7 separate regions of the Homo sapiens genome follow, and all the other regions are linked to region 4. The links are contacts of gene promoters, found by promoter capture Hi-C in blood cells and fetal thymus (Javierre and others, 2016). All regions are on one chromosome and are shown on one strand. Each heading gives the region's core, a stretch centred on a gene start or on the middle of the fragment in contact. The rest is flanking DNA. Distances are from core to core; before and after follow the strand shown.

Evidence for each region. The method cuts DNA at HindIII sites, captures the fragments that hold promoters and counts their contacts. A CHiCAGO score of 5 or more calls a contact.
Region 1: a fragment that was not itself captured here is called in contact with the fragment with the promoter of IGFBPL1 in region 4 in 2 of 17 cell types (endothelial precursors and M0 macrophages); the score reaches 5.2 in endothelial precursors.
Region 2: a fragment that was not itself captured here is called in contact with the fragment with the promoter of IGFBPL1 in region 4 in 1 of 17 cell types (M0 macrophages); the score reaches 6.1 in M0 macrophages.
Region 3: a contact is called between a fragment that was not itself captured here and the fragment with the promoter of IGFBPL1 in region 4, in 3 of 17 cell types (endothelial precursors, M0 macrophages and M2 macrophages). The highest score is 6.1, in endothelial precursors.
Region 5: a fragment that was not itself captured here is called in contact with the fragment with the promoter of IGFBPL1 in region 4 in 1 of 17 cell types (endothelial precursors); the score reaches 6.7 in endothelial precursors.
Region 6: a contact is called between a fragment that was not itself captured here and the fragment with the promoter of IGFBPL1 in region 4, in 1 of 17 cell types (M2 macrophages). The highest score is 7.2, in M2 macrophages.
Region 7: a fragment that was not itself captured here is called in contact with the fragment with the promoter of IGFBPL1 in region 4 in 1 of 17 cell types (endothelial precursors); the score reaches 5.2 in endothelial precursors.

Annotation. Positions count from the first base shown.
Region 1 is chr9:37,675,608-37,678,904 of GRCh38, forward strand. The region is part of intron 1 of FRMPD1 (FERM and PDZ domain containing 1); the gene reads left to right. Among named protein-coding and RNA genes, the nearest start is that of FRMPD1, 26 kb to the left of the region's middle. The HindIII fragment of the contact is 1,644 bases long and covers 460-2,103 here.
Region 2 is chr9:37,606,231-37,609,614 of GRCh38, forward strand. It overlaps a transcript of FRMPD1 not described here. Among named protein-coding and RNA genes, the nearest start is that of TOMM5, 15 kb to the left of the region's middle. The HindIII fragment of the contact is 259 bases long and covers 1,722-1,980 here.
Region 3 is chr9:37,639,764-37,643,045 of GRCh38, forward strand. It overlaps a transcript of FRMPD1 not described here. Among named protein-coding and RNA genes, the nearest start is that of FRMPD1, 9.5 kb to the right of the region's middle. The HindIII fragment of the contact is 2,386 bases long and covers 725-3,110 here.
Region 4 is chr9:38,422,512-38,425,830 of GRCh38, forward strand. IGFBPL1 (insulin like growth factor binding protein like 1) reads right to left here and starts at 1,943. Exons shown (of 5, transcript NM_001007563.3): 1 at 1,454-1,943. The coding sequence starts at 1,913. It overlaps LOC105376041 (a long non-coding RNA gene), which reads left to right and starts at 2,100. Exons shown (of 8, transcript XR_007061487.1): 1 at 2,100-2,239. RefSeq lists an enhancer at 2,988-3,319. The HindIII fragment of the contact is 4,043 bases long and covers 726-3,319 here.
Region 5 is chr9:37,657,489-37,660,719 of GRCh38, forward strand. All of the region lies in intron 1 of FRMPD1 (FERM and PDZ domain containing 1), which reads left to right. Among named protein-coding and RNA genes, the nearest start is that of FRMPD1, 8.2 kb to the left of the region's middle. The HindIII fragment of the contact is 4,057 bases long and covers 1-3,231 here.
Region 6 is chr9:37,471,047-37,474,390 of GRCh38, forward strand. No RefSeq gene overlaps it. Among named protein-coding and RNA genes, the nearest start is that of ZBTB5, 7.3 kb to the left of the region's middle. The HindIII fragment of the contact is 3,362 bases long and covers 237-3,344 here.
Region 7 is chr9:37,584,430-37,587,787 of GRCh38, forward strand. No RefSeq gene overlaps it. Among named protein-coding and RNA genes, the nearest start is that of TOMM5, 6.5 kb to the right of the region's middle. The HindIII fragment of the contact is 4,406 bases long and covers 1-3,358 here.

The DNA.
Region 1 (3,297 bases), core at 32-2,531, 750 kb before region 4:
GAGTAGGGTGTTTAATGGTGCTCATGATGTAGGTGCCACAGGTGTGTCCCAGCATGGGCTGGTGAGTGCCTGCACATGAGAGAATAGATTAGACCTCTGATCTGACCTCTCCACCAGTCAGAATTATGAACTTGGAGGTGGCAGGGGCCTTAGAATCCTTCTAGATCTAGAGATGGAAATGGAGGTATTAGAAGAAGAGACTTGCTGAGAGCCACACAGGGCGCAGTGCCAGGGCAAAACGAGGTGTGCACCTGCTGCTGCTCGAACTGGTGTGTGTTCACCTGTCCTGTTGCCACTCCCTGGAGAACCTTTGCTTCAACCTGTAAAGCTTTGATTCTCTTCTGAGAGATCATCTCTCTAATCCTTAAAAGAGGTATCATTGCTGCACAAACAGTAACAATGGGAATTAAAATAGAAACAAAAAGAATTGGCTGCCTAAACCCAGCATCCATCAGATCAAGCTTGTTTTGTGTTCTCGCCTGTCTGCGCTCCGCATCACTTTTACAGTTGTACCCAGAGCATAGATATGGCTTTATGGCCTGTGGTTTATACTCACATTAAATCCAGAAAAGGCTTTTTCTGGAATGTTACATGGTTTCTGGTTCTCATTTTTTGGAAATTCAAGGAAGAAGACATGCAGTAAGCATGCTTCTGTGGCCAGTTCTGTTTTTCGTTCCTAGAGCTCGTGTCTCGGGGAGCATCTTGCTGCATAGTGTTTTCCTGTTTTCCTTAGGCAGAACTCCCAGCCCTGATCATCTCTATGTACTTTTAAAGTGGGGTGACTCAAACTGGACACTTCTCTACTGAGGTTAGGGACAGAGGGCAGAATGCTTAATTAGGGCTGAATTTCTGAGTTCCTGGGTCCTGCGGTTTTCGGCGATCTCTGAATCGAGTTGGCATTCATTCACAGCTGTTGGTGCCACTCCTACTGGCTGCCACCTCCTAACAGCTGACCCGGCTCCCTGAATTGTTTGCTGTAAACTGGGCAGCCCTACAGGAGGGAGAAGAGGTTTCCGGATAGAATGCTTAATTAGGGCTTAATTAAGACAGCCAGAGTGGCCCGTTGGCCTGAACCCTTGCATAGGGTTCTGATTGGCAGGCGGCATCTGGCATTCTTGGCCGCCTGACAGCAATCAGCCGTTCCTAAGCCCCATGCAGAGATGAGCGAGACACACACTGCCCTGCTGTTGGCAGGAGCTCTTCCTAGACTCCCTATAGCATTTTAGACAGCCCGTTCTTATGGGCCCCACTCTCTGCCTTATATTGGTTAGGAGTTTTCTATGTGGCTTGTCTTCTCTATAACACGATGAACACCCAAAGGGCAAGGGCTGTGTCTGCTTAATCTTGATCTCCTCTACCACACTCAGCACAGATCCCAGAGGAAAGAGGATCTAATGGAACGAATTGCATTTACTTTTGGACCAAATCCCTTAATTTGAGATGGCTGCAGACCTGTAAAGTAGAGTCTAGAGTCCAGGGACTGGAATTGAAAAATGCAGAGTCTAGGGGCCCGCAAACCCATGGCCAGCAACAAGTCTATGAAAAGGGTGAGGACTTTCAGGGAAGGAACCTCAAAGTCAGGACAGAGCCTTGATGTCATAGTCATGGGCAAGAGTTCTGCGAGGCATGTCCTGGGCCCAGCCCTGCAAGCCATTCTTGGTTGCTTGTGCTGTGGTGGTGGTTGTTACTGTTTATTAGTATGATAGGTTTGTAATCCTGCCTTCCTTACCCAGACACAGAAATGTGGAGTCAAATCTCAGCCCACCAGGGTGGCAAGCAGCTTCATATGGGCTAGAACTCTGGGAGTCTAACCTTCTGAAATGAAGAATAACATCATAGCTGCTGTCATTGAGGACTTTCTTTGTGCCATGCATTCTGGTAGAACTTCACATATATTATCTAATTTACTGTGGGGCAGGTGAAGTCAGCCCCATTTCACAGATGACAGTACAGGCTCAGGGAGGCTAAGGGAACTTGTCCAAGGATGCAAGGTTAGCACAAGGTTAGTGAGAGTCGGGGTTGGAACTAGGACATGATAAGGCCTGTGCTGTTGACATGAAAGGTCACTGGGGAAGAACTGTGAGTCCAGTAGTGCACTGTGAAAGCTTGGAAGGAGGAATACCATGACGTGACCACCAAACAAGATCATCTGCCCATGAGAGTGCTTTGAAAACTACAGACCATGGTTCAAAAACCTTGCAACCTTTGCTCACATTGCTAGCAGATCACTTCCTTTCTTTTGCTTTGAATTCTGATTAGGTGTGTATGTGTCTGACTTCCCTGGTGAAATGCAGGCTCCTTGAGGGTGAGAATTGTGCCTGCTTATCTCAGTGTCCCCCACAGCCCCTGTACTTGGCAAATTGTTGATGATCATTGAGTGTTTCTTGAATCTGTGGATATTAGCATTGATTCAGAGAGGAAGAAATGGAAACAGGACCCATGGTGACATTTGTCCAGATGTGTCGTGGCTAAGCCCTTGGCTGGAGATTTGACTCAGAGAATTGGAAAGAAAGGGCAGAACCCTAGAGCTCTCTGGAGATATGTGTGGGAGATCTCAGAGTGAATAAAATTCTGCCTACCCATGACCTCCAGCTTCAAGGCATCGATGCTGATTCTATCTCTTTTCCCCTCTAGTACTTACCACTTTTTTTTTTTTTTTTTTTTTTTTTTTTAGATGGAGTCTCAATCTGTTGCCCAGGCTGGAGTGCAGTGGTGCAATCTCGGCTCACTGCAACCTCCACCTCCCAGGTTCAAGTGATTCTCCTTCCTCAGCCTCCCAAGTAGCTGGGATTACAGGCATGTGCCATCACGTCTGGCTAATTTTTGTATTTTTAGTAGAGATGGGGTTTCACCCTGTTGGCCAAGCTGGTCTCAAACTCCTGATCTCAAGTGATCCACCTACCTCAGCCTCCCAAAGTGCTGGGATTACAGGCACGAGCCACCACACCCGGCGTACTTACCACTTTCTAACAGTCTTAATTTCCTTTTTTGTTCATTGTTTCTTGTCTAGTGAGAACCTGTATTAGAATGTAAGCTCCACAAGAGTAGTGATTTTTGTCTTTTTTGCTCCTAATGACTCCCAAGACCTAGAACAGTGCCAGGCACATAGAGGATACTGAATAAATATCTATAGAATAAATGAAGGAAGTGAAGGTATCGCAAGACCTGGAGTCACTGCAGAGTCAGCTGCACCTCTGCCATCAAAACACTTTCCAGGAACCTAATGTTCTGTGTGAGCCTCCCAAGTCAGGGCAGGGCCCAGAATAGCCCCAGATAGACTGCACTTGGCCTGGGCCC
Region 2 (3,384 bases), core at 601-3,100, 820 kb before region 4:
TAAAACAGTAGGGCATATTTATCCCGGTGGAAGAGGGCATTTATTCTGTGTGCCAGCCATGGAACCATCTATTGGATCAAGCCTCTTGAGTGATGAAAAAATTGTTGTAGACTAGGGACTTATTTGGTGATGAAAGTGATGTCTGATTTGCTTGTTGTACTGGTGGCATTCTTTGTATTGCCTTGTTTCACTCTCAGAAGTATTCTGGGTTGGATGACAAACTTTATGGTCACACTGCCCATGGACAAAAAGATACCTGTATTTTTCTGGTGGCCCTGAGTTCTAAATTTTAAAGCCAAAGAGAGGTTGGTGTATAAAGCACCTCTTGCTAAATAGCGTTTTCTTCTGGCACCACCACGCTGAATATGCACAAAACTCTTTTCTTTTCCCTCTTAGCTTGGCTGGAAATATAAAACTAAAATTTACTTTAAAATTAATAGAAAACAAAAAAGATTCCCTTTAAACCAGAAAAACAGATACAGGATAGAAATTTATTAAGTTCTTGCCACAGATCAGCTTGACTGGCTCAGTTCAGAATGATCAGTTCCTGGATTGCTTAGCTCTCCTCCACCTAGAGTTCTGGGACACACAGCCAGAGAGAGGCTGGAGTAGGAGTGTCTGCAGGGAACCATAGATGTAAGGGAGTCCTTGGCCCTTCACATGTCATTCTGGGCTATGAGACCCTGAGGGGTTAGTCCTTGACTCCTGGGAGAAGGGAGAAGGGTTTTGTTTTTATTATTTTTTCACATGAAGCCACTGCTTGAAGCATAGTGACAGTGAATGTAGAAATCATTAGAAACATGGTTGAGCACAGTGGCTGACACCTATAATCCCAGCACTTTGGGAGGCCGGGGCGGGTGGATCACCTGAGGTCAGGATTTCGAGACCAGCCTGGCCAACGTGGAGAAATCCCGTCTCTAATAAAAATACAAAAATTAGCCAAGCATGGTGGCTCGTGCCTGTAATCCCAGCTGCTTGGGAGGCTGAAGCAGGGAGAATCACTTGAACCCGAGAGGCGGAGGTTGCAGGGAGCCAGGATCACACCACTGCACTCCAGCCTGGGTGACAAAGTGAGACTCCATCTCAAAAAAATCATTAGAAACAAAAGAATCCGGGGAAAGGAATGAAAGTGGTGTTTCATGAAGTTTAATTGAGCAATGACCTCCTCATTAGCAGCAGTCAGTTCAGTTTATGTGACCTCATTTAAGGAAAAAAAACAAGGATTAGGGGAAAAAGCGCCTCCTTTGTGTTACTGTTCCTTCTCTCTCTCACTGGTACATCCACCTGTATCCTTGTGGTTGTGTTGCCATTGCTAAATTCATCAAACAAGGTCTGTGATTGTATGTGACCTTAGTCATCTATTTGTTACACAAGCATTTTTGGATTGTTTGAACCATTCAACACCTCTTTCCTTTGCATATAAATGGAGATTAGGAGGATTCTTAATAGGTAGTTATTGAGCATCAAGCCTGTCATAGATATTAAGGAGAATTACAGGGTCGGGGATTTATAGTCAAAATTCAAAGAGATGTGAAAATAATGAGAAACCTCATGGTTTAGGTTTTGATGTTAGAAGCTCGCTGCTTCAAAGATCTAGAAATGTGTAATAAAACCATACCAGCTCTTGTTTCTACTTCCCCAACATAAAACAGCTAAAGATCACTGAATAAATTAATAGACGATAGCAAGAGTGTGTTTCTTCAAGGGAAGTTCCTCTGAGAAGCTTGCTATTTCAGGAAGACATGGGTCGTGGCTTTTGTGAATCAATTTTAAAAGGAGCCAGATAAACTTGTGGCCAGCGATAACATCTATAGCTATTGAAGGCGAGACGGGGTAGTCAGTTCTCATGCTGCATTGCATTTAAACCCTGTGTCACGAAGGCTACGTGAACAGGCTGGGAATGTCTTCCCCACAGGGTCCTTGCTCGTATTCAATTTCTCCTGATAAACTGCCTCATTCTCCATGTCAAACCCTTTTCAAAGCTTGACATAAATTCTGGGTTGATGAAGTAACATACTGATTATTTAAGAAACATGGCATAACTTATAAGGACTAGGATGCATGCCCAACTCTTCAAAGTTTTGAACTCTGGGGCCTAGAAACCAATTTCAAAGGCACTGCCTACTTTCTTTCTTTCTCTTCTTTCTCTTTCTTTCTTTTTTTTTTTCTATCTTTCTCTCTTTCTTTCTTTCCTTCCTTTACATCCTTCCTTCTTTTCTTTTCCTTTCTTCCTTCCCTCCTTCCTTCCTTCTTTCCTTCCTTCCACTTTCTTTCTTCCTTCCTGAGATGGGGGGAGGGTAGTTGGTCTCACTATGTTGCCCAGGCTGGACTTGAACTCCTGGGCTCAAGTGATCTTCCTATCTCAGCCTCCCAAGTAGCTGGAACTATAGGCACTTGCCACTGTGCCTGGCAAGACTTAGTTTTCTTTTGCAAATCATTCCTGGGAATTGACACAGAAACAACTTATTAATCTTAAAAGCAACCATATTCATAACTTCATAGTAATGATAAAAATACTAAGAGTATTTAAATTTCAATAAGAATAATAGCTGAAATGTATTGGGGGCGTATTGTGTGCTAGGCCCTGTGTACACTGAAAGTTTCACATGGATTGTCTTGTTTAATCCTCCCAATAATAAGCATTATTATGTAGGTGTTATTATATTATCCCAGTTTTACAGATGAATATTATTACAGTCCAACCGTGCTCCTGAATTCCTGACCAAACATCCAACTGTCCACTCAACATCTCTGTTTGGATGTTTAATAGGCATCTCAGGCCGGGCATGGTGGCTCACGCCTGTAATCCCAGCACTTTGGGAGGCTGAGGCGGGCAGATCACCTGAGATCAGGAGTTCGAGACCAGCCTGACCAACATGGAGAAACCCCGTCTCTACTAAAAATACAAAAAGTTAGCCGGGCATGGTGGCACATGCCTGTAATCCCAGCTACTTGGGAGGCTGAGGCAGGAGAATCACTTGAACCTGGGAGGCGGAGTTTGCGGTGAACCCAGATCACGCCATTGCACTCCAGCCTGGGCAACAAGAGCGAAACTCCGTCTCAAAAAAAAAAAAAAAGTATCTCAAGTTTAAAATGTCTAAAACTTGGCTCCTAATATTCCCTTCTCGTTCCTCTGCCCCCAAGAAACTTCCTCCCCTTCAGTTTTCCTCATCTCAGGTAGCGGCAAGTCCAGCCTTCAGGTTGCTGAGGCCCAAAACCTTGGAGTCATCTTTGACTCATCTCTTTCTCTCAAACCCTGCATCCAATCTGGTCAGCAAATCCTGTTGCTGCACCTTCATAAAGCATATCCAGAATCAGAGTACTTCTCACTCCTCCACTGTTACTTCCCTGCTTCAAACCACCATCCTCTTTCACCCGGATGAT
Region 3 (3,282 bases), core at 668-3,167, 780 kb before region 4:
CATCCTCCCGCCTCAGCCACCCAAGTAACTGGGACTGCAGGCATGCACCACCAGGCCTAGCTTGCTGTTGTATTTTTTGTAGAGACTGCGTTTTGCCATGTTACCCAGGCTGGTCCTGGACTCCTGAGCTCAAGTAAAAAATAAAATTTTACTTGAATGAGTGAACAGAATTGCATATACTTAATCTGGGCCACACCTTGCAAAACAATTCACAGAACTCAGTCAGGCCAAGTAGATGCCTCTATACAGCCAGCATGAGTTTGGGGAATAGCACTGGGACTAAGCATAGCTCTGTCACTCACTTACCTCTGGCCTCAAGCAAATGGTTTAACTGCTGTGTGTTCCTGTTTTCCTCAGCTGTGAAATTGGATACCGATACCTCACTCAGGAGTATTATGAAGGTCAAATGAGATATTGTCTGCATAAGGGCTCCAAAGGACATCAAGGTGGTGCGTGTTAAGGGATTATGGTTCAGTGTAGGTAACACAGATGCCATTAATGGCATACCCCTATTCTATGCCTGTTCCTGGTAGGGCTGAAGCAGGAGGGGGTGGCTGAACCGAGGACAGAGTTATGGGGGAAGAAGGGGTTAAATAAGTAGCTATTTCTGTTCCCCAAGTGACCATTCTCTGGGCACAGACTGAAATTCCCTCTGGAGCTGCACTAATGGACACATTAGTATCAGTTGACAAAGTACCATATGCTCTGAAATGTTCTCCCATTAAGCTTCATGGGAGGTGGCAGGAATTCATGGTCCATTGTAGGAAATCTGCCATGATTTTAGTCTTCAGTAAAGTATACTCCTAGGCTTCCTACGCTCTGGAAGGTCGGGCTAGGCCTCCAACTACATAATGATGCACCAGACATTACTTATTTTAAGACAGGAAGGCTGTGAAGTAAGGTTATCTTTGTCTGTCAATAGTAGACTCATAAAATCATCCTTTATTTTTGAAAAAAAATTATGTTTTAACAATGAATTATTTTGTGAGTATTTGCTCTTTGGTTTCAGGTTAATCAGCATGTGTACTGGTCATTAATCAGGATCCAGATTATGAAAATAACACATAATGTCTTCAGTGGCATCAATAAGTACATGGTTTTTCATAAGTCACCATGTTATTTATTTATTTATTTAGAGACAGGGTCTCGCTCTATTACCCAGGTTGGAGTGCAATGGAGCGCAGTAAAATCTGGGCTCACTGCAGCCTTGACCTCCTGGGCTCAAGCCATCCTCCCGCCTCAGCTACCTGAGTAACTGGGACTGCAGGCATGCACCACCAGGCCTAGCTTGCTTTTGTATTTTTTGTAGAGACTGCATTTTGCCATGTTACCCAGGCTGGTCCTGGACTCCTGAGCTCAAGTGATCTGCCCACCGCAGCCTCCCAAAGTGCTGGGATTACAGACCATGTTATTTTTATGGAAACTTCCTTTGCAAGAAGTATCATCTTTCTTAATACCAGTCAATTTGCCTAAAAAAGAATGAAGGGAAAAAAGGAAGAAAGAAAGACCCAAACTCCACCAGTTTCAAAAGACAAGGCAGACTTAAAAGTGTCAAGATCTGGGAGTTTCAAAATGTATAACAATAGCTGCCATTTATTGAATGCCTGCAACACCCCAGAGCCTGTGCTAGGTGCTTTATCCTTACTAGTTAATTTAATTCTCACAACACCCTTCAAGGTCAGTATTATCTGTGTGTTAAGATGAGAAAACTGAGAGGTTACATTAGTTGTCCAAGGTCATAAAGCTAACAAGAGCTGGCATTCAAGCTACCTCTGGCTCCACGGCCCAGATCCTTTCCAGAACATCCCCCTCTGATTCAAAGAACAGGCTGACACAGTGTTGCAGTACACAGTACATAGTAACAAAACATGAATAAAGCCTTGTTTTTAAGAAAATCTAGATCATCCCTCCCTCTCCCTATCCTACACCGAAGATAGGAGAGGAACCTTCCAAGACTTTCCCCTGCGTCTGGGGACTGTCCATGCACTGTTTCCAGAATTTAGGGAATGTGTTAGCTGGAGGGGGTCCAGGCTAGTCTAGTGCCTCCCCAACATCCCCCAGTTACTTTCATTTAGATTTACTCTGCTTATGCCTGTACTCTACAAGGGGCTTCTGTTTAGTAGGATTTGAGTTGAATATAGAATCCTACCAAAGTTGGAAAAACACTGATATAGTCCAATTCTATGTTTTGTAGGTGAAGATCTCTCAGACCCAGAGCAGGCTTGACCAAAATAACCTAGAAAGGTAGGACAGGCCCTTTGCTCTTTAAAATTTAAATTTCTGGATCACTACAGCAAAACTATTGGAGTGAGAAAGACAATCACCATGGGAAATATGCTCCAAAAGCTGTTTTCACCTGTTGACAGAACAGAGGAGGGTAGCAGAACCCTCCCAGATTTAAATTCTGACTCAATCACCAACACCAGCTATCTGGATGATCTTGAGCAGGTTACTTAACCATGTAGAGTCTCTTTGTCTGCAAAAAAGACACATGATACTTGCTTGTTGGAGTTTTTGTGTTAGTATATTAAAAATACATAGCATCTAATAGGTGTTCCTTTCCATCCTTAGAGCCTTCCCATAGGCTGTTCTCTCTGCCTGGAAGCTCTATCATCCCTCTCCCCTTCAATAGCTGACTTGGACTTATTATTTAGTTTCTTTCACTAGATTTCTTGGATTTGAATCCAAGCTCTTACTAGTTGAGTGACCAGGGGAACATTTGGCCTTGGTTTTCTCATTTATAAAGTGGGGATATTAATATATAATTCATAGGGTTATTAAAATGAGATAAACCGCTTAGAACAGTGCCTAACAAATATTAGGTCTCAATAAAATTTGGCAAGGACGATTTGTGGGATCCATAATTCCAGAGGGCTCTGTTTCCTCCTTCGGTAAGCTATTCACATTGCCTGGAAGCTCATGACATTTACTCTTTATTCTAGGAGTTCAGAAATTTCACCAGGATATATTTTTAAATATCCATTCTGCCAATCTTTGTCTTTTAATTGGTGTATTTAGATTATTTACATTTAATATAATTACTAAAATGTTAGCACTTAACTCTGCTATGTTGTTATTTCTTTTCTTTCTGCACAGGGGAAAGTCTTGGAAGCTTTCTCTCCCATCTGTTTGTTCCCCATTTCTCACTCCTCTTTTTTCTTTTTCCTGCCTCCCTGTGGAGTACTTGGGCTTTTTAAAGAATTCTACTTTGATTTATCTAAAGTATTTTTGAGTGTATCTCTCTGTATAGTTTTTAAAGTTGTTGCTCAAGTATTAAATCAT
Region 4 (3,319 bases), core at 693-3,192:
ACAGGACTGTTTAAGTGCCACAGGGCGGAAACCAACTGTTCCGAGTGAAAGGGACCTCAACAATGACTCCACTGGGGCTGATATGGCCAGAGAGGGGAAGGGACCCGTCCAGGGCCACTCAGGGAGCCAGCGGCAGCACAGATGCACCCCCAGCCAGCTCTGTCCTCCATGGGGAGCTTCAGCTAGGAACAGCCAATGGTGACTTTCCTGTGCTCAACTGGCCACACACTGGTTTTACATTTCCCAGGACTGGAGGCTTCCTGCCCCATCTCCAACAACCCATTGCGTCTCCTGGACTTGGGTACATCTACCTGAACTACTTGAGAGGAAAGACTACTAGATACTTCTTAAGGCTTGGAAAGGTCTCACCCCACCCCAGGCTTCTTTCTTGAAGCTAAGTCATTACACTGACTTAGGCACTAAAGTCTGGACTTGGTCTCTGGGCTCAGGCCAGAATTATTTCCCAGAAGCCTGAACTCCAGGCCGAAACCCAGGCTCCTTGGGACTCACTGGCCACCTTCTCACTCACCCTAAACTCAGCACTGCCCACTCCAGGCAAAGTACACAGCGGCACTTCAAAACCTAGTGGGTGGAATACACTCATGCTTAGGAAGCCGGTAAAGCAGTGCTAACGTTTTGGTTTCTTTTTGTTTGGTTTTCAAAAGGTACATAAAGAGGGTGGGCAACTATAGCACTCAGAGATTATTTTACTGTGATGTTAATGAAGCTTAAGTTTCTAAGTCCCTAGCATTTCATAATAAGTTTCTAAGTCCCTAGCAGTTCTATTCCTTTACTTAAGGCAGGACTCTCCAAATTATATATGTTTTAGAAGCACGAAACCTGAGTCTGCCCCTAATAGCACCACAATCTTTTCAGACCTTACGTCTCCAAAGGTCTTACTTCTCCTGGATGGAGCTCCCTCAGCATCCCAGCTCAGCCCCTTCCCACACCGGGGGCCCTGGTGCTCTGGTGCTGTGGCCTGGTGACTACTGATTCCCCAGTCTGGAACTCATCCTCCTCCTGCATCCTCAACTTCCCTTCCTCCCCTATCCTCTACTTCCCTTCCTCCCCCAACCTCAACTTCCCTTCCTCCCCATTCAAACAATCCACCTAGCGCTGGATACCTGGGAACTCGGATCCCCCTCCTTAACTCCCAGTCTCCTGCTGGGCAAACATACCATGCCTACAAATAAGTGACTGCATCAGCAGGTACTTAAGTACCAAAAGGGGTAGCAGGCTCACCAAAAATTCGACTAGCACAGTGAGTGGCGTCTCCAAGGATTCTCGCCCCAGTCTCTCTGAGCACGAGGAGAGATATGAAATACTGCTCCCTAAGGGGAAACTGAGTGCCAGGCAGCGCCGTCCACCACTGGGCAGGGGGATCCTTCGCTCCACACCCCAGAGGGTTGGAATCCCTCCTTCTCTACCCACCCAATCCCCGACCCTGACTCACCGAACTCGCAAGGGCCGTCGCGCGCCTTGTGCAGGTGACCGGGGTGCGCGCGGGGCGTGTGCCGAGCGCGCAGGCGCAGCGCGCAGACGCTGGGGTACGAGCGACCGTCGGAGCCGCAGACGGTGCCGCGCTGCGCGCACACGCAGAGCCCGGTGCCCTCGGGCGCTGCCCCAGCGGCCTGGCTCGCGCATACCAGGCCGGGGCCACAGCGCCCGCCGGCGCGGCCCCCGCAGCTCGCGCCCTCGGCTCCCAGGCAGCGGGCGCAGCAGCCGCACTCGTCGAGCGCCGAGATCCCGGGCGCCGGGCAGGGCGCAGGCGCCGGGCAGCCCTCTGGCCGGCACGGACCACACTTGGGGCGCCGGCCGCCCACGTCGCGGATCCCAAGGCTCGGGGACAGCGGCGGCAGCAGCGGCAGCAGCAGCAGAAGCAGCAGCGGCAAGAGCAGAGACAAGCGCGGCATGGCTTGCTCCGGGACAGCGGCGGCGCCTCTGCTTCGCGCTCCGCTCCGCGCCCGCCGAGCAGTCACCGCTCCCGCCCCGCGGCCGCTGATTGGCCGGGCCTGCACCGCGGGGCGCCCGCAGACCGCTGCTCCAGCCCGGGACCCGCGCGGTGCCCGCGGCCCGGGTCTCCGAGCTGGAGGGTCGCCCCGAGAGCAGCTCTCCGACCTCCGATTGGACTCTTGAGGGAACCGAGACCCAGTCGGGGCGACAACTTGCCCGAGGTCGCTATGGCAGAGTCAGGATTGGATAACCGTACGGTCTCCGGATCCAAGGCTGGCTCCAGATAGTATGCCCGTAAATCCTCCCAGAAGGATGCGCTATTTTATTTAATTTTATTTTGCATTCAGTAGTTTTCAAAGTTTTATTTTATAAAGAGAATATATGGTTTAAAATGTAGATTTTACATATACATCTAAGGATGAAAAGAGGGTTACCCTACCACCTTGTATCCCCATCCTCCAACTCGGCTTCCAGAGGCCACTCTTGCTATCGGGTTTTTGTATATCTTTTCAGAAATTTTCTCTATGCCTATAAAAGTACATGTGCCTAAAAAAGCCCCTTCCTTTAAAACACACACACTCTGTTTCTCTCTCACACACACAGAGTAGCGTGCCATACACATTAGTCTGCACTTGGTTTTTGCACTTACAGTGTTTCACAGTTTCCCCACCTCTTGTCATCTGTGAAACTGGGTTTCTTATACAATCAATGGGAGCATAGTTCATTGGCTCTGTGAGTGTGTTTCTTAATGCTGCATAAAGTCATGGTACATCTCCGTCCACAGTGACTTTGTTGTGATGAGATATGGTGATATATTTTGGAGTTCATACAGAGTGGCCTTTCCACAGGGTTTAGTTGCAGTTATTTAACCACTTATTTTCCATCCTTTGGTTAATACGAATAATGCTTTGATGAAGTCTTGGTGCACAAGGGTCAGTGTACCTGTGGCTTACTGGGGAATGCATGTTGGAAAGATGCAGTTTCTTGTAGTCAGTTATTCATGCCGCCGTTGCGCCTTCTCTGGGCCAGGCTCTGTGCACACCATCCTGCCTGAGTTCTGGCAGGGCACCCAGACGAGAAACCTAAGAGAGTCTTGGCTGCTGGGATTTGATGTGTTGCTGGGTAAATGCACTGGATGGAGGGAGGGACTCGCTGAGCAGGTTTTATAGGAGACTTTTCCTGCCTTTACTGGCCACCCCTCATGTGTCTTGTGCTCTATTGTTTTTTCTTTGCTGAACTCCTGGAGATGGAGAAAGCCTCTTGCAGCCTGGGAAGACCAGCTACACCGTTCTTGGGTGGGGTTCATTTTGCTTTTCAAGCCCAGTTCCTTCCCAGTTTGCAGTCTTCTTATCCCCAGAAAGGAGCC
Region 5 (3,231 bases), core at 599-3,098, 770 kb before region 4:
CTGTCCAGGGCTCCCCTGGTACCTGTGAATGTGCTGTTAGTTCCTGGTCTGGTTAGAAGATGATGTCTCTGTGGAGATACATACTTGGCCTCTTTCTTTCTCCCTGGGGTGAGGGACATTTTATGTATAGGAGATGGAAGAATAGACGGTCTCTTTCTCAAGCTCATTCCTGGTTATTTTCAGTACTTAGCTCTTTGCAAAAACTGCGTAATAAGTGTCTTAGTGAGAGTGTGCCTTGTTTATGTGCTGAAAACCTAGATTCACACATATGTTTCCAGATATTTTAGCTACCAGCATAGACCCTCAAACAAGACTGCCAGCTCCGGAGATGATCAAGTACAGCCTTTGTGTGGTGCAGGAATTCCCCTAGCATACCCAGCCTCCCTCTGCTTGGACCTACCAACCCCCACCACCTTCCTATTCCATCCTCAGTTGGCTCTGGTTATTACAAAGTTCTTCATTATTCCAAGCCAAAAATCTTCCTCTCGGCAATGGTTGCCCCATTGGCCCGATCCTGTCCTTTGAAGCCCCACACACAAAAAATCCATTTCTTCTTCCCTATGACAGCTAGTTAGGCCACTTGGACCTTCAAAGACAGGGATCAGGCCCCCACATCTTCACTTCTTTAGGCAGAATGCCCACTTTATCTGGCCCCCTGAAAAGCTAAGAATGGGACACCGCTGTGCAGGTGGGGGTCTGATCAGCCCAGACAGGAGCAAGCCCACTGCAGCCTCACTTCGGAATCTATATTTGCGTTAGCACAGCCTGAGGCCAGTTAGGTCCCGGTGGGTCCCCCTTCTGAGCTGTGCACTGGGCCACTACGGAACTGCATGCACTTTGGCGTCAGAGAGACCCGAGTGTCCTGGCCCAGTGGTTGACGTGGGGTCGGGTGAGTGAGCCCCCTCTCTGGGACTCAGATCCCTCATCTGTCTGACTACTTCTTAGGTGCTGTATTTTTTCCTGTAAATGCTGTAACAAATCACCTCAATCTTGGCTTAAAACAGCAGAACTGTGTCCTTGAACAGTTCTGGAGGCCAGAAGTACAAAATCGAGATGTTGGTAGTGCTGCTGTCCCACTGGAGTCTCTAAGGGGAATCCTTCCTTTGTCACTTCCAGCTTCTGGTGCCCACTGGCATTTCTTGACTTGTGGCTGCATCACTCCAGTCTCTGCCTCCCTGGTCACGTTGCCTCCTCCTGTCTGTTTCAAATCTTTGTTTCACTCTTATAAGGACACTTGTCCTGAGATTTAGGGTCCATCTGGATAATCCAAGGATAAGCACGTCATCTAAAGATCATTAATTTAATTATAGGTGTAAAAATCCTTTTTCCAAATAAGATCACATTTACAGGTTCCTGGGATTGGGACTTGGAATTATTTATTTATTTATTTATTTTTGAGACTGGGTTTGGCTCTGTCACCCAGGCTGGAGTGCAGTGGCATGATCAAGCTCACTGCAGTGCTGATCTCCTGGGCTCAAGTGATCCTCCCACCTCAGCCTTCTAAATTGCTGGGACTATAGGCGCACACCAACTGGCTAATTTTTAAATTTTATTTTTAGTAGAGATGAGGCCTTGCTATGTTGCTCAGACTGATCTCAAACTCCTGAGCTTAAGCAGTCCTCCTGTCCCAGCCTCCCAAAGTGCTGGGATGACGGGTGTGAGCTACTACATCCAGCCAAGACTTGGATATCTTTTTAGGGTGGCCGCCATTCAGCCATTGGCTCTCTACTTTCTCTACTTTTGCAACTCCCTTTTGTTTCTATTGTATTTGAACCCAGCTCTCCAGGGTCACTGGCCTCAGATCCTCAGGCCACATGTCTTCTGTCTCCTCCTTCCTTCAGCATCCTGGCTGCTGCTCTGAAGGGTGCCGGGGCTGTTCCTATCACTCCTGTTGTACAGATGTGGGTGGGGCCCTCAGGGATTAGGCTGCCTAGGAGAAAGCTCAGGTCTTTCTGGTGCATACCCTCATTTCCACCAGCATGCTATGGCGAGTCCAGTGGAGGTTTTGTCAGTGGGAAGGAGAAGCTGTGGCTATTAAAATATTCATTGCCGGTTCTCAGACGTAGGGAAGATCCCACAGTGAATGTGCTCTGGACAAAGAAGGGACACATAGTGGAAGACTTATGTCTTCACATTTTCCCACTAATTTAGACTGAGATTGGCTCACTGAATTTGAGGGAAATTATATTCTCAGTGCCCAAATACTCTGTAAAAAATCAGGAAATGCTCCTTGACAACCCTGTAAGGGCATAGTAGTATCATCTTCTTGCCCTACAACTAGCCTGTTTCAGAAGTTCCATGGTCCTTTAAGTGTGATCTCCAGTCTGCTGCTGGCTTCTGGGCTCTCCAAATGCAACTCCCACTAAAATGTGCTTTTCTCCACAAAGAGAGTGCGCTGCTTTGTTTGCAGTTGACTTTTCAAGCACTAAAAAAAAAAAAAAAAAAACAAAACTGAGGGGCAAGCAGAAGAGCTGCGTCTGGTGAAGCTAGTAGTGGAGCTGAGAGAAAGCAGGGGGAGGGTAGTGGCCTGGGAAGTTCTGGACACTGAGCAGCTCCAGACTCTCCACTCATTGCTGCCCCCAGGATTCCTGTCCGACGGCATCCTCCTAGATGGCTGCTGCACTCATTTCAATGTGCTTTGCTAAGAAAGGCCTGTGTGGGGATAGGGGCTGGGGAGGAGAGGCGGGGAGGGAGGAGAGAGATGAATCAGACAGTCCCTGCCCCACCTGCGGCTGGAAGTAAGTCAGTGCTGGGCAGGGTGCTGTGCTTTGCAGAGACCCTTGGGAGCCTAGCAAGGGCTGGCCATGCCTTGCAGGGAGATCTAGGAGGGCTTCTGGGAGGGACTGGCATTTGAACCGAGCCCTAGTGGGTGACTAGGAGATAAAGAAGAGAAAGATGGATAGAACAGTGTATCCAAAGTTGACCTCAGGTGGCCCCCTTCCTGGTCATCATCCGATGGAGCTGCACTGGAAGAAGCTCAGGTCTTACAGGGACCTTAAGGACCATCTAGTAAGGAAGATATTCAGACTGCACTGCTTAGAGACCTCCGCTTCTCATTTCTCTTAAAGAACAGTGATTTTAAAGTAGGTTTAAACAATGGGTTTAAAGAACAGTGATTTTCCATTTTGACAAGGCTTGTTTGGTATAGCCACTTCAAAATATCCCCACATCAAAATATGATGCTTTATCTGGGATATCTTTTCCAGACTTTGGGAGCCTTCCCTCCTGCAC
Region 6 (3,344 bases), core at 668-3,167, 950 kb before region 4:
TATTTTATAACATGCCATGTTTGCAAGGGTTTAGGTATAAGCAGCCATTCTTATTCACAGCTAGTGGGAGTAGAAATTGGTACAGATTCTACAGAAGTCAATTTGGCAGTATCTACTAATGGAATCCACTCAGAACTACTGATGTGCTATGGAGATTATTTTAAGCTGAAAACATCTAACAAACAGCAGCCATAAAGAAAAAATCTTATCTAAGCTTCTTTCCTTGATTTATCCAAAGCTTCCTGAAAATACAACCATCACAAATCCCCTTTCCAGGTGGTTTACAACCAGAAAGGAGATAGCTCATTTGCACCTGGATGAGAAATTACATAAACAAAAGGTTATCAGAATTGTCTGTACCTTCCACTTCTTTGCTTTCACTTGTTTCTCACTAGTTTCTCACCATTTGCTTTCCCTTGAAGTCCGAACTCTCTTCCTTGAAGGTCCTGTCTCTCCTTATTAAGATGATACATAAATCCTTAACTCTAACTGTAGGGAGTGTCACTTTTTCTGTACACTTCCACATACATGAATAAACTTGTCTTTTCTTCTGTCAATCTGTCTTTTTTCAGTTAATCTGTAGGGCTCCAATCATTGAATCTTAAGTTGGCAAAAATTCATCTACAAATAATCTCTTACTCAGTGAGATCACACTTTTAGAATTTTATCCCACACATATACACAAGTATAAAATCACATATGCACAGTTATTTATTGCAGCATTATTTGTATTAAAAAACAATCCAAAACAAACAATTCATCAGTGAGGACTAACTAAATAAATTAGAGTACATCCATACAATTGAATCTATGAAGTTGTTAAACAAAATATTGAGGGAGGCTGGGCGCAGTGGCTCATGCCTGTAATTCCAGCACTTTTGGAGGCCAAGGCAGAAGGATCACTGGAGTCCAAGTGTTCAAGACCACCCTGGGCAACATAGGGAGGCCCCATCTCTGCAAAAAATACAGAAATTAGCCAGGTTTGGTGGCGTGCACCTGTAGTCCAAGCTACTTGGGAGCCTGGGTGCAAGGATCACTTGAGCCTGGGACATCAAGGGTGCAGTGAGCCATGATCATGCCACTGCACTCGCAGTGAGCCATGATCATGCCACTGCACTCCAGCCTGGGCGACAAAGTGAGATCCTGTCTCAAAAAGAAAAAAAAAAAATTGAGGAAAGAAAAAAAAAAAAAGAATGAGGAGACTTTCACTTTTGCTATAACAGAGTAACTAACTGCTCCCGTACTTGTCCTCCGTGAGTAAACACCTAGAAAACTAGAAAAAAAAAAGGTGAAATAATGTTTTTAGACATTGGACAGTAGGCAGCACAAAACAGTGATTCCTGAGAGAGGGGGGAACAAAAGCAAGGGAGCCTTACAATTGCTCCAGTTTTCTTCCCGGAGACACTTTCTGGACAACGAAACAGGAAGGAGAGTTCAAACAGAGCATGGTAGTCTCCCACTGATTTGAGGAGAGAGATTGGAATTCCAAGAGAGTGAGTCAGCAGGAATTTGCAGGGTAAATTACTGGAGAAGAGGCACCTAGGCATAAAAAGCCTTCCAGAAATTCTTCCTAGGAATCTTCCACAGTCTGTTAGTGATTACCAAACTGTGTATGAGTAAGATGAAACTCTAAAATAGGCCAGGCAAAGAACAATTCTGAAAAATCACACAGAGATGGGAAACATTCAAATTCTGACTAAAGCTGAATAATAAAAATAAGATTTTGTTTGTTTTTCAATTTCTTTAAAAGAAAGGCTTTTGGCCGGGCACGGTGACTCACGCCTGTAATCCCAGCCCTTTGGGAGGCTGAGGTGGGCGGATCACAAGGTCAGGAGTTCGAGACCAGCCTGGTGAATGTGGCGAAACCCCGTCTCTACTAAAAATACAAAAAAATTAGCCAGGAGTGGTGGCAGGCACCTGTAGTCCCAGCTACTCAGGAAGCTGAGGCAGGAGAATCACTTGAACCTGGGAGGCAGAGGCTGTGTGAGCCGAGATTGTGCCACTGCACCCCAGTCTGGGCAACAGGGCGAGACTCCGTCTCAAAAACAAAAAAAAAAAGAAAGGCTTTTACATTGTATGTGAAATGGTGTAATATTATCTCTATGTACACGGATATTTTAAAGATGCATTTTTTTTCTTTTTTTTTTTTTTGAGATGGAGTTTCACTCTTGTTGCCCAGGCTGGAGTGCAATGGCTCAATCTCGGCTCACTGCACCTCCGCCTCCCAGGTTCAAGCGATTCTCCTGCCTCAGCCTCCCTAGTAGCTGGGATTACAGGTGTGTGCCACCATGCCCAGCTAATTTTGTATTTTTAGTAGAGATGGGGTTTCACCACGTTGGTCAGGCTGGTCTCAAACTCCTGACCTCAGATGATCCACCCACCTCGGCCTCCCAAAGTGCTGGGATTGCAGGCATGAGCCACCATGCCTGGCCAAAGATGCATGTTATAAACCCTAGAGCAGGGGTCAGCAAATATTTTCTATAAAGGGACAGACAGTAAATATTTTGGGCTTTGCAAACTGCAAGTGGTCTCTGTTGCATATTCATCACATATTTTTCTTCCTCCTTTTGTTTTTGTTTTGTTTTGTTTTTGCAACTCTTAAGAAATGTATAAACATTCTTAGCCCAAGGATTATATAAAAATAGGCCAAATTTAGCCATTGGGACATTGTTACAAACTGAATGTTTGTGTCTCCTCCACCTGGATTGATGTGTTGCAGCCCTAACCCCCAGTGTGATGGTATTAGGAGGTGGGACCTTTGGGAGGTAATTAGCTTTAAATGAGATCTTGAGGGTAGAGCACCCAGGATGGGATTGGTGGCTGTAAAAGAAGAGGAAGATGGAGTGGTGCCTCACACCTGTAATCCCAGCACTTTGGGAGGCTGAGGCAGGCAGATCATGAGGTCAGGAGTTTAAGACCAGCCTGACCAACATGGTGAAACTCCATCTCTGCTAAAAACCCAAAAATTAGCCAGGTGTGGTGGTGCACACCTGTAATCCCAGCTACTCAGGAGGCTGAGGCAAGAGAATCGCTTGAACCCAGCATGCGGAGGTTGCAGTGAGCCGAGATAGCACCACTGCACTCCAGCCTGGGCAACAGAGCAAGAATCTGCCTCAAAATAAATAAATAAATAAATAAATAAATAAATAAATAAATAAGAGAAAGAGACACTAGAGCTTCTCTCTCCGTCGTGTGAGGATACAGCAAGAAGGTGGCTGTCTACAAGGCAGAAAGGGGGCCCTCACCAGGAACTGAATCTGCTGGCGCCTTGATCTTGGATATTAGAGCCTCAAGAACTGTGAAAAATAAAGGTCTGTTGTTTAAGTCACTCACTCTGTGGTATT
Region 7 (3,358 bases), core at 443-2,942, 840 kb before region 4:
CCAGCCTGAACATACACTAGAATCCAGGGTAACAATTACACTATTTTCCTCCAAGAAAAGCATGTAAGGATGGGGTACAAGGAATAAATAAACATTAAAAGTCCCCTGGATAAGCACAGACTGACTAGAAATAATTTTTTTAAATGAAAAAAAAAAAAAAAGTCCCCTAGGCCTTGGCCAGCTGCTACTCATTGGCCACTGAAACTTGCAGTCTCAACCTCTCCACCTGTAAAATGGCATTATTATTGATTGGTTAAGGCTATTTTTAGATAATGAACTTAAGTGTTTGGTAAGTTTGAAGTTTGTACACAATTAGAGGATGAGTATGCTATCTCAGAGCATCTGGAAATAGGAATGAGATCTGTCTATGCTGTGAATGCCAGCACAAATCACTTCTAAATGCCTTATACCAAAGACTAGCCATTAATAACATTTACCAAATGTCAAGCAATTGTGCCAGCTGCTCTACTTGCATTTTTTCACTTAATCCTTACGACACTTTGAAGTAGAGAGATGTTTCTATTATCCTAATTTTATAGTTAAAGAAAATGAGATTCGGAGCTCACTTGCTGAAAATCACCCATCTCGTAAGTATTGGAGCCAACATTCAAAATCAAGTCTGCCTGTCTTTAGAGCCAGTATTCATATGACCACAGTGCCATACACTACACCTTCTTAATTTAAGAAATAAATACAAAACCACAGAATTAAAATACATGCTTTCCAGGTTAAGATGGTAGATGAAGCACGTATACCTACCTCCACTCCCTCCCAAAAATCCCATTAAATGACGGTAAAGGTTTTTGTTTTAAGATATAAACCTAAAAGGATGGAAGAAAAGAGGAAACAGGAATAAAACGTTAGAAGCTGGAAAATAGGTAGATCAACAGTAAATAATGTAGTAGACTCTGAAAAACTGAATTCTGAGCCAGCGGTAGAAAAAGAAAAAAACCCACAAGAACCCCCAAACAACAACAAAAACTCACAACCTAATTTATATCATGGAATCCCTAAAAGGCTCAGAAACTAGTGGCTTCAGGTGCCTCTAGCAATAAGGGGTAGAAGGGTAGACATTAAAATAAGAATTGGTGCAAGGTTTAAGTAATCAGATGCTCTCTGCAACTCTATGCAGCAAAACAGCCTCCATTACACAGTACCCTCTCAAAATGATAGTTTTTTTTTTTAGGCCAGGTGCAGTGGCTCACACCTGTAATCTCAGCACTTTGGGAAGCTGAGATGGGCGGATCACCTGAGGCCAGCAGTTCGAGACCAGCCTGGCCAACATGATGAAACATCATCTCTACTAAAACTACAAAAATTAGACAGGCATGGTGGTGTGCGCCTGTAATCCCAGCTACTCAGGTGGCTAAGGCACAAGAACCGTTTGAGTCAGGGAGGCAGAGGTTGCAGCGAGCCAAGATCGTCCACTGCACTCCAGCCTGGAGCAAAACTCTGTCTCCAAAAAATAAAAAGTTTATTTTCTGAAAAGGGTAAAATAGAAGGTCTCTAGATTATGGGATGCCAGGCAGTTTGGGCAGAGGTACTATACTCAAAACAGAGACGCAGTGAGCAAATACATACTGGATATTGAAACACACACACACACACCTGTCTGTCCTGAGCCTCACCACAGCCCTATTCCTTTGAATCCCAGAACGTTGGCAGGGCCTCATTCAGCACTTGGGAGATTGGAAGAGTCTTTGTTCTCTGAGCAATGACCAGCTCAATGGGAAATAACTAAAGATACAGACGCAAAAAGTTTTCTCAACAAAAATGGCCCAATAGATGGCCCTTTGGCAAAGTTCAACATCAACAAGCTCCACTCCAGGCCTTTAATCCATGTTAGTTCCCAATTTTTAAGTGTGAGCAGACAACCAAGGAAAGCATCTAACATGAAACAAAAAAAGAGAAAAGCAATTACAGATAAAATAGAATATAAAGGAAAAAGAAAACATTAAAAGTACTATTGTTCTAAAAAGAGAGCAGAAGGAAAAAGAAGGGGAGGAAATCAATAAAAACCTATAAGCATTCATTGGTGGATGCTACAAATTAATACGACTGAACTCATGGAGACAGAGTAGAATGATGGTTACCAGAGGCTAGGAAAGGTTAGGGAAGGAATGCAGGGATGGCTAATGGGTACAAAAATATAGTTAGATGTAATGAATAAGTTCTAGTATTTGATAGCATAATGGGTGATTACAGTCAATAATAATTTACTGTACATCTAAAAATAACTAAAAGTATAACTGGAATGTTTGTAACATAAATAAATTATAAATGAGGTGACAGATAATCCCGTTATCCTGATGTGATTATTAGGTACTGTATGCCTGTATCAAAATATCTCATGCACCCCATAAATATATACACTTACATACCCATAAAAAATAATAAAATTATTTTAAAACCTACAAAATTTGAGAAATAAAGATACAAGTTTCAAGTTTAAATAGGTTCACCAAGTGCCCACCACAGTGTATTAAAATAAACACACACTAAATGATGTCATCATGGAATATAAGCATACTAGGAACAAAGATCCTTGTTTCTCAGGAAGAAATACTTAGTCCCACAAAAAAATCAGGAATCAGAATGATTTCAGATTTCTCAGCAGCAACACTGAAAGCTAGAGGCTTTGCTTTAAAATTCTGAAGGAAAATGATTGCTAATCTAGAACCCTATATTCATCAAACTATAGAATAAAGACATTTTTAAGGCCAGGCACAGTGGCTCATGCCTATAATCCCAGCACTTTGGGAGGCTGAGGTGGGCAGATTACCTGAGGTCAGGAGTTCGAGACCAGCCTGGCCAACATGGCAAAACCCTGTCTCTACTAAAAATACAAAAATTAGCCAGGCGTGGTGGCACGTGCCTGTAATCCCAGCTACTTGGGAGGCTAAGGCAGGAAAATCGCTTGAACTGGGAGGTGGAGGTTGCAGTGAGCCAAGATCATGCCACTGCACTCTAGCCTAGTTGACAGAGCAAGACTCCGTGTTAAAAAAAAAAAAAAAAAAAAAAAAAAAGACATTTTTAGACCAGCAAGGTCATTCACCTCCTATGCCACCTTTCTCAGGAGGACACTGCCAGAGAAAACAGGCTCCATCAAACAAGGGAGTAAACCAAGACACTAGGTAACAGAAAACGAGATATAATAAGAGAGAAGAAAAGGAATTCCCGGACAATAGTGAAGGGAGTTCCCAGAATACAGTCACATATCAGGCATAGAGAAGGGAGTTCCCAGAATATAGCCACACACATCAGGCATAGAAGGCTATCAGTCCAGTCAGGGGCGGGTCAGAAGACTCCAGGAAACGCTTACTCAGGAAAATGAAACAGAGTACCTAATAAAGCTGAT